Linked DNA regions of Homo sapiens: region 1 is linked to region 2. Evidence: promoter capture Hi-C in human tissues and cell types (Jung and others, 2019). All regions are on one chromosome and are shown on one strand. The core of a region is centred on a gene start or on the middle of the fragment in contact, and the rest is flanking DNA. Distances in the headings are between cores, read along the strand shown. Region 1 has its middle 150 kb from the start of FKBP1C. Region 2 holds the start of FKBP1C (FKBP prolyl isomerase family member 1C).

What was found. Contacts are between HindIII fragments. The study calls those that stand out against the background at their distance.
Region 1: a fragment that was not itself captured here is called in contact with the fragment with the promoter of FKBP1C in region 2 in 5 of the 25 tissues and cell types used here (H1 embryonic stem cells, aorta, hippocampus and 2 more).

What each region holds. Positions count from the first base shown.
Region 1 is chr6:63,061,525-63,065,983 of GRCh38, forward strand. No RefSeq gene overlaps it. Among named protein-coding and RNA genes, the nearest start is that of FKBP1C, 150 kb to the right of the region's middle. The HindIII fragment of the contact is 5,493 bases long and covers 29-4,459 here.
Region 2 is chr6:63,209,996-63,214,126 of GRCh38, forward strand. FKBP1C (FKBP prolyl isomerase family member 1C) reads left to right here and starts at 1,474. Exons shown (of 1, transcript NM_001395980.1): 1 at 1,474-3,032. The coding sequence starts at 1,562. The coding sequence ends at 1,888. The HindIII fragment of the contact is 10,095 bases long and covers 1-4,131 here.

The DNA.
Region 1 (4,459 bases), core at 1,525-4,024, 150 kb before region 2:
AGGGACTGAGGCAGGAGTAACACACGAGCCCAGGAGTTTAAGGTTACAGTGAGCCGTGATGTGCCACTGTGTTCCAGTCTGGCAATAGAGTGAGACTTTGTCTCAATAATAATAAAAAAAAATTAATTCTCAATTGTTCCCTGGATTGAAAGTTGTGGTGCTGGGTTCATCATACTTAGAGCAAAGTAGGAGAAAATAACAAAGTGTCAATGTTTAATATATACATCTTTATTTAAATCATCTATTTTCAGTATAATACCCGAGGTCTCTGAAACACTCATTATTTTCAACCTCTGTCTTCTAGGCTTCACCTAGGAGAAATGCCATTCTGCAAACGCCTTCACCATTCATTCTCTCAGTTATCCAAGCTTCAGCAAAATATATCAGCATCATCAACTGCCTGTCTCCTTTGAATGCAAATAATTGCTTGTCAAATAATTCCTCAGAAATAATATGTCTGGTGATATGGTTTTGCTGAGTCCCCACCCAAATCTTGTCTTGAATTGTAGTACACATAATGCCAACATGTCACAGGAGGAACCAAGTGGGAGGTAACTGAGTCATAGGAGCAGTTACCCTCATCCTGGTGCTCTCATGATACTGAGTGAGTTCCCACGAGATCTGATGGTTTTATAAGGAGCTTTTACCCCTTTTGCTCAGCACTTCTCCTTCTTGCATCATATGAAGAAGGATGTGTTTGCTACCCCTTCCACCATGATTGAAAGTTTCCTGAGGACTCCCCAGCCATGCTGAGCTATGAGTCAATTAAACTTATTTATTTTATAAATTACCCAGTCTCAGATGTGTTTTTATTAGCAGCATGTGAGTGGACTTATACATAAATTGGTAGCAAGTAGTGGGGAGCTGCTGTAAAGATACCTGAAAATGTGAAAGTGATTTTGGAACTGGGTAACAAGCAGAGATTGAAACAGTTTGGAAGGCTCAGAAGAAGACAGGAAAATGTGAAAGTTTGGAACTTCCCAGAGATTTGCTTAATGGCTTTGACCAAAATGCTGATAGTGATATGAACAATAAAGTCCAGGCTGAGGTGGTCTCAGTTGGAACTTGTTGGGAACTGGACTAAATGTCACTCTTGTTATGCAGAGACTGGCAGCATTCTGCCCCTGCCCTAGAGATCTTTGGAACTTTGAACTTGAGAGAGATGATTTAGGGTATCTGGTGGAAGAAATTTCTAAATGACAAAGCATTCAAGAGGAAGCAGAGGACAAAAGTTTGGAAAATTTGCAGCCTGATGATGTGATAGAAAAGAAAAACCATTTTTCTGGAGAGAAATTCAAGCTGGCTGCAGAAATTTGCATAAATAAGGAGTCAAATGTTAATCACCAAGACAATGGGAAAAATGTCCCCAAGGCATGTCACAGACTTTCATGGCAGCCCCTCCCATTACAGGTCTGGAGGTCTAGGAGGAAAAAATGATTTTCTGGCGGGGTCAAGGACTCCCTGCTCTGTGCACCCTCAAGACTGCATCCCAGCTGCTCTAGCCATGGCTAAAAGGAGCCAACATATAGCTCAGACTATTGCTTCAGAAGTTAAAAGCCCCAAGCCTTGGTAGCTTCCATGTGGTGTTGGGCCTTTTGGTGCACAGAAGTCAAGAACTGAGGTGTGGGAACCTCCACCTAGATTTCAGAGGATGTATGGAAAGGCCTGAATGTCCAGGCAAAAGCTTACTGCAGGGGCAGAGCCCTCAAGGAGAATCTCCGCTATGCCCATGAAGAAGGGAAATGTGGGGCTGGAGCCCCCACAGAGTCCCCACTGCCTAATGGAGCTGTGAGAAGTGCCCTAATGGGGACTGCCTAATGGAGCTGTGAGAAGAGGGCCACCATCCTCTAGACCCTAGAATGGCAGATCCACCAACAGCTTGCAGTGTGCATCTGGAAAAGCCACAAGCACCCAATACCAACCAGCCCATTAAAGCAGCCATGAGGCGGGCTGTACCCCGCAAAGCCACAGTGGTGGAGCTGCTCAAGACCATGGGAGCCCACTTTTTGTATCAGTATGACCTGGATGTGAGACCTGGGGTCAAAGGAGATCATTTTGGAGCTTTAAGATTTGACTGCCCTGCTGGATTTCTAACTCACATGGGGCCTGTAGTCCCTTTGTTTTGGCCAATTTCTCCCACAAGGAATGGGGTGTATTTACCCAATGCCTGGACCCACACGTTTACCTATGTAACAAACCTGTATATTCTGCACATGTACCCCAGAACTTAAAATAAAAGTTGAAAAACAAAACAAAACAAAAAAACTTTGGAACCAGTCATACAGCCTCTCTGATAGCATCTCCATTAGCAATTCATGAAAAAGATTTCTAGGATCAGAAAGGAAACTCTCTTCTGCCTCTACCTTGGAAATGGTATTCTCAACACTATGTTAGAAGAAAATTAAACATGTAAATATCTTTGACATTTAAAAGTTTCTAAAAATGAATTAAATTATAAATGGCAATAACTTAGGTTTATGTGGCACTTTATGTTTTTCAACGTCCTTCTAACTATATTATGCCCCCGCCCTTGGTAGAGCAGTCATGAATACTTAAAGTGACTTGCCTAAAGGAGCACAGCTAACTAGCTATAACACTTATAACAAAGATGCAAGATTCACATTTGCTTTTCTTTTCTGTGAATTTGACCTTACTAAAGGAAGCCATTGCCACAAGTAGACAAATTCTATATTAGCTGTACTCACATGGGATTCCTGTTGTGGCTCTCACTGTCATTTTATGACACAGGCTCCCCCATAACAAGAACCATGGCATTTTCCAGGTCCCTCACCTGCCTTATGACACCCCCCAAAGTGTAGAGTGGGATATCCTCTCCATGATGATTCTGCTACTTTGCTGTAGCCTAACCAGAATTGTAATAGTCATCCAAAGGTTGGAAATTAAAGCCATAACCGCATGTACACACATATTATAAAGACTTTTTTTCTTCTTTGGCAACTATTACAAATGTGACCCAGGTAAAATGAAAAATTCTCAGGATTGCTATGAAATCATTTATTTTCCATGCCACACCAGAGTTTTAAAATATTAGAAAATTAAGATATATGAATCTCTCTTGCTCCAAGCTAATGCATTTGTCATATATTTCAAGGTGGTCCTGGCATGATGCCATATCTAAGTTTTTAGTTCAGAACTGTGACTAGCATGGCACTATCAAAGTGCACCAAGGTCTTTCCCTTGTATTTACTAGAAATAGCATTCTAGAAAATATCTCAAAACTCCCAAGGTAGGAAGAACACTAAAAAGAAATCTATTTTTTTTCATCTGGCACCTTCAAAATGAACTGAGCCTCACTTTTGGTCTACATTGAAGCATTTGGTCTAGATCCATCTTAGGTATATTCAAGATAGCTTTTCCGTATTAGAAAACTCAAATACAGTATTAGTTGATGTAGAAGTCAGAAAAATGTACGAACTACAATTCTTTTAAAGTTCTATTTTCGTCAAAGTTATGTTCAATAATTTTTCTATTTTATTTTTATTGTTTTGTTTTCAATACATAGACATAAACATAGTTCACTTATCTGGCACCAAGTTAGAACAATTTTTTAGAAAATTTGCCTTCCTTGTAAACAGATAAGAGTTGTAAGACCCACGCTATTGTAACTGAAAGCAGACCAATAATTTTAACAATAGAACAAAATGTTTATTTAGAACAAGAAATATTTAAGCAACTATGTGTTTAACAAAGTACTATTTAAAGGACATACTCATTAAGCACCATAAAAAGCTGATTTTGGGCATGTGCTTATATCAACTCATTTAATTCTCACAGTATTGAATTAGTTGGTCTACATGAGAATTTTCTGTTATGTGACCTCTCAGATGATCATTTGGGAATCCTGAATTCCCAGGTATTGGTAATGCATTTAATTGTGTAATGAAGTTTATCAAATGATGAGCATCGTATATGAACAAGATACTATGATAATAACAATAATTATCTTTATTCATTGAATTCTTTTAAAGTGACATTGTTCTTTCTACACATATACTTTTGTTTAATTATCTTAAAATCCTACTGAGTAGGTATTAGTATCCTCATTGAACTTACAAGAAAGCCAAGCTTCAAAAACAAGGTAATTTCCCCAAGTTCACAATTATAAAATGGTAAATGAATTCAGCCCCAAATCTTTTTTACACTAAAACTCATGTTCTCATTTCACCCTGCTGCCTCTAATTTTAGAGCATAAACCAGTTCCCACTTAGAAAAACATGCTTTCAAATAAAATGAAATAGGAGAAAAGATATAATGAACAGCTTGAGAATAAAATCACACATAATTTGAGAATAACCTCATAATTCACAAAACAAGTTTGCATCTGTTATTCTAATGTACTGCCTGTGTTATACTTGCATATTTTCATAATTTATTCATGCTGTTACATTATTTTTTCTCAATATAAATCAAATGTATATTTCTTTTACTTAGCAAATGA
Region 2 (4,131 bases), core at 224-2,723:
GGTTATGTAGAAATAGCATCTGATAATTTGTTGGAAATATTAGCATATAGATGGCTATGAAATGTGTGAAGTATTATCAGAAGAATTCTAATAAAAAATTTTTGCAGTGTAAGTCGACTATGGTTCTATTTCAAATGTAGTTAGGTTCTTAGCCCTAATGGCAAGCAGAGGCTACACTAAATGTATTTAACCTAAAGACAAGTTGATAAGAAATTTATAATTCCACTGTTTTTTAAAAATTACAAAAGTAAAAGGTATATACACATAACATCTACAGCAACAAAGAATGCAAAAACATTCTTTTCACATAGAAAGAGTTAAATATACATGCTTTCAAGAACAATAGCAGCTTCTCTTAAACTTTCTTAACTTACCTAGTGTTTTCTATCACTAAAAAAGCTGTATGTAAATCATTAAGTTTAGACTACTGAATCTATATCGTTCTTTGTAAACCAGACTCAAAGCATATTTCTTTCTAAGTTAACATGAACATAATAGAACACACAGAAAGAAAAATATAACTGTGAGTTTATATGCAAAGTACTGGACAACTTTCAAATATATACATCCTTCCTTTTTTCTTTAAAATATCTCTCTACACTGATACTTCTGGCAGAAACCTGACAATAGTGGCTACGCTAATCGTAGCATACTATTTAGATGGACAACAGTTAATTCATTTGAGCAAAAGTTTTAGAGATCTGTTTTAGACCTTTAAATCAAACTCCAGATATATACAATAGTATCCCTTATCCACAGTTTTGCTTTCTGCAGTTTCAGTTACCCATGGTCAATAGTGGTCTGCAAATATTAAATTGAAAGCTTCAGAAATAAACAATTCATAAGTTTTAAATTGCACACCATTCTGAGTAGTGTGAAGAAATCTCGAGCCATCCCGTTCCACTCTCACCTGACTGAGACGTGAATTATCCCATTGTCCACCATCTCCACACTGTATACCCTCCCTGTCTGTTAGTCACTCAGTAGCTGTCTTGGTTATCAGATCAATTGTAAGGTAGCTCAGAGCTTGTGTTTAATATGTACCCCTTATTTTACTTCATAATGGCCTCAAAGTGCAAGAGTAATGATGCTTTTATATTGTTATAACTGTTCTATTTTATTATTAGTCATTGTTTTTAGTCTCTTGCTGTGCCTAATTTATAAATTAAATTTTATCATAGGTATGTATGTACAGGAAAAAATATAGTATATATAGGGTTCTGTACTATCTGTGGTTCTGTGGTTTCAGGCACCCACTGGGGATCTTGGAACGTAGCCGCCACAGATAATGGGAGACCAAACACAAAGTTAACAAAGTTAACAAGGAAATGGTAACACTTCCAGTACGGGAAAAAAAAAAAAAAACCTATTTAGAGATTTTTAAGTGACTCATTCAACACACTTGCCCAGAAGGCACTAATATAGAATTTGTAGATTTTAAAAATACAGTATGGGCAGGCAACGCGCTGAGGGACTAGGCAGAGCCGTGGAACCGCCGCCAGGTCGCTGTCGGTCCACGCCGCCCGTCGCGCTGCCCGCCCGCTCGGCGTCGGCCGCCGCCATGGGAGTGCACGTGGAAACCATCTCCCCAGGAGACTGGCGCACCTTCCCGAAGCGCAGCCAGACCTGCGTGATGCACTACACCGGGATGCTTGAAGATGGAAAGAAATTTGATTCCTCCCGGGACAGAAACAAGCCCTTTAAGTTTATGCTAGGCAAGCAGGAGGTGATCCGAGGCTGGGAAGAAGGGGTTGTCCAGATGAGTGTGGGTCAGAGAGCCAAACTGACTATATCTCCAGATTATGCCTATGGTGCCACTGGGCACCCAGGCATCATCCCACCACATGCCACTCTCGTCTTCGATGTGGAGCTTCTAAAACTGGAATGACAGGAATGGCCTCCTCCCTTAGCTCCCTGTTCTTGGATCTGCCATGGAGGGATCTGGTGCCTCCAGACGTGTGCACATAAATCCATATGGAGCTTTTCCTGATGTTCCACTCCACTTTGTATAGACATCTGCCCCAACTGAATGTGTTCTGTCACTCAGCTTTGCTTCCGACACCTCTGTTTCCTCTTCCCCTTTCTCCTGGTATGTGCGTTTACCTAAACTATATGCCATAAACGTCAAGTTATTCATTTTACTTTTTCATTTTGGGGTGAAGATTCAGTTTCAGTCTTTTGAATATAGGTTTCCAATTAAGTACATGGTCAAGTGTTAACAGCACAAGTGATAAGTTAACGTTAGGATAGGAATTGGTGTTGAGGGGGTTGCAAGAATATTTTATTTTAATTTTTTGGATGAAATTTTTATCTATTATATATTAAACATTCTTGCTGCTGCGCTGCAAAACCATAGCAGATTTGAGGCACTGTTGAGGACTGAATTATTCTCCAAGTTGAGAGATGTCCTTGGGTTAAATTAAAAGCCCTACCTAAAACTGAGGTGGGGATGGGGAGAGGCTTTGCCTCCACCATTCCCACCCCACCCTCCCCTTAAACCCTCTGCCTTTGAAAGCAGGTCATGTTCACTGCGATGCTGGACACTACAGGTATCTGTCCCTGGGCCAGCAGGGACCTCTGAAGCCTTCTTTGTGGCCTTATTTTTTTTTTTTTTTTTTTCATCCTGTGGTTTTTCTAACGGACTTTCAGGAATTTTGTAATCTCATAACTTTCCAAGCTCCACCACTTCCTAAATCTTAAGAACTTTAATTGACAGTTTCAATTGAAGGTGCTGTTTGTAGACTTAACACCCAGTGAAAGCCCAGCCATCATGACAAATCCTTGAATGTTCTCTTAAGAAAATGATGCTGGTCATCCCAGCTTCAGCATCTCCTGTTTTTTGATGCTTGGCTCCCTCTGCTGATCTCAGAGTTTCCTGGCTTTTCCTCCCTCAGCCACTTCTCACCCCTTTGCTGTCCTGTGTAGTGATTTGGTGAGAGGAATCGTTGCTGCCCCCTTCCCCTAGCACCATATATGAGTCTCAAGTTTTATTATTGCAATAAAAGTGCTTTATGCTGGCTTTTCTCAAAAAATAAATAAATAAATAAATAAATAAAATAAAAATACAGTATGCACCTGTTCACCAAAAATCTATGGAAATAAAAAAATTAAATAAATAACTAAATATAAATAAAAATATGGTATGGAACCAGCCTAATTACTCATAGAACTGCTGTTTATGGTTTCTTTTGAATAAACATAAAAATTGAGACTCCCATCTTAAAACTTGAGAAAGTTACATTTGTCTTATCTGGGTTCCTTTCTCAGGAAACCACACATCAGGCCTTCCAGACAGTATCAAGGAAAGGAAACTTACGAGATCACCACATCTGGACAATAAGATGAAAGACTCCTCACCTATCATGATCGCATAAGTGACCACCTGCTTCCTGTTGACCAACTCCTCTTCTTTACCCCTCCCTAATTCCTGTTTTCCCACACATAGTTACATTTCTTCCCTGCTATACAAACCCTTAGTTTTAGTTGGTTGAGGTGACTAATTTAAGGCTCATCTCCCATTCTCCTCAGCTGTAGCACCCAAATAAAGCCTTCTTCCCTGGAAATTCTCATTGTCTCAGTGATTGGCTTTCAGGGTGGTGAGCTGCAGGACCTAGACCAAAACCCTGGCATTTTTATAACAGTATGAATTTTCAGTTGTACAATTCTTATAATGAAGAGTAGTAATGTAACTTATAGGTGACTTGGATTAAAACTATTGACCGGACTTTTTAGTTTCAATTACTTAACACTCTAAATCCTAGTATATTTAAATGTAAATTAAATGCTTGCAGCTAAAAACGCATCTTAATTCATATTATAGCAGCTTCAGGTTATGCTTTATTGATCTCCATCCTTTAGTATTTGTATGCAACTATAAGATAAATTTTAAAATTGTGAAATAATTAAGGGCAAATGAGACAAACTGTTTGTTCCTGCCCCCAAAAAATCTACACTTCTCTTTTTTCTTTTCTTTCTTTCTTTCTTTCTTTTTTTTTTTTTTTTTTTTTTTGAGATGGAGTTTCACTCTTATTGCCCAGGCTGGAGTGCAATGACATGATCTCGGCTCACCGCAACCTCCACCTCCTGGGTTCAAGCAATTCTCCTGCCTCAGCCTCTCAAGTAGCTGGGATT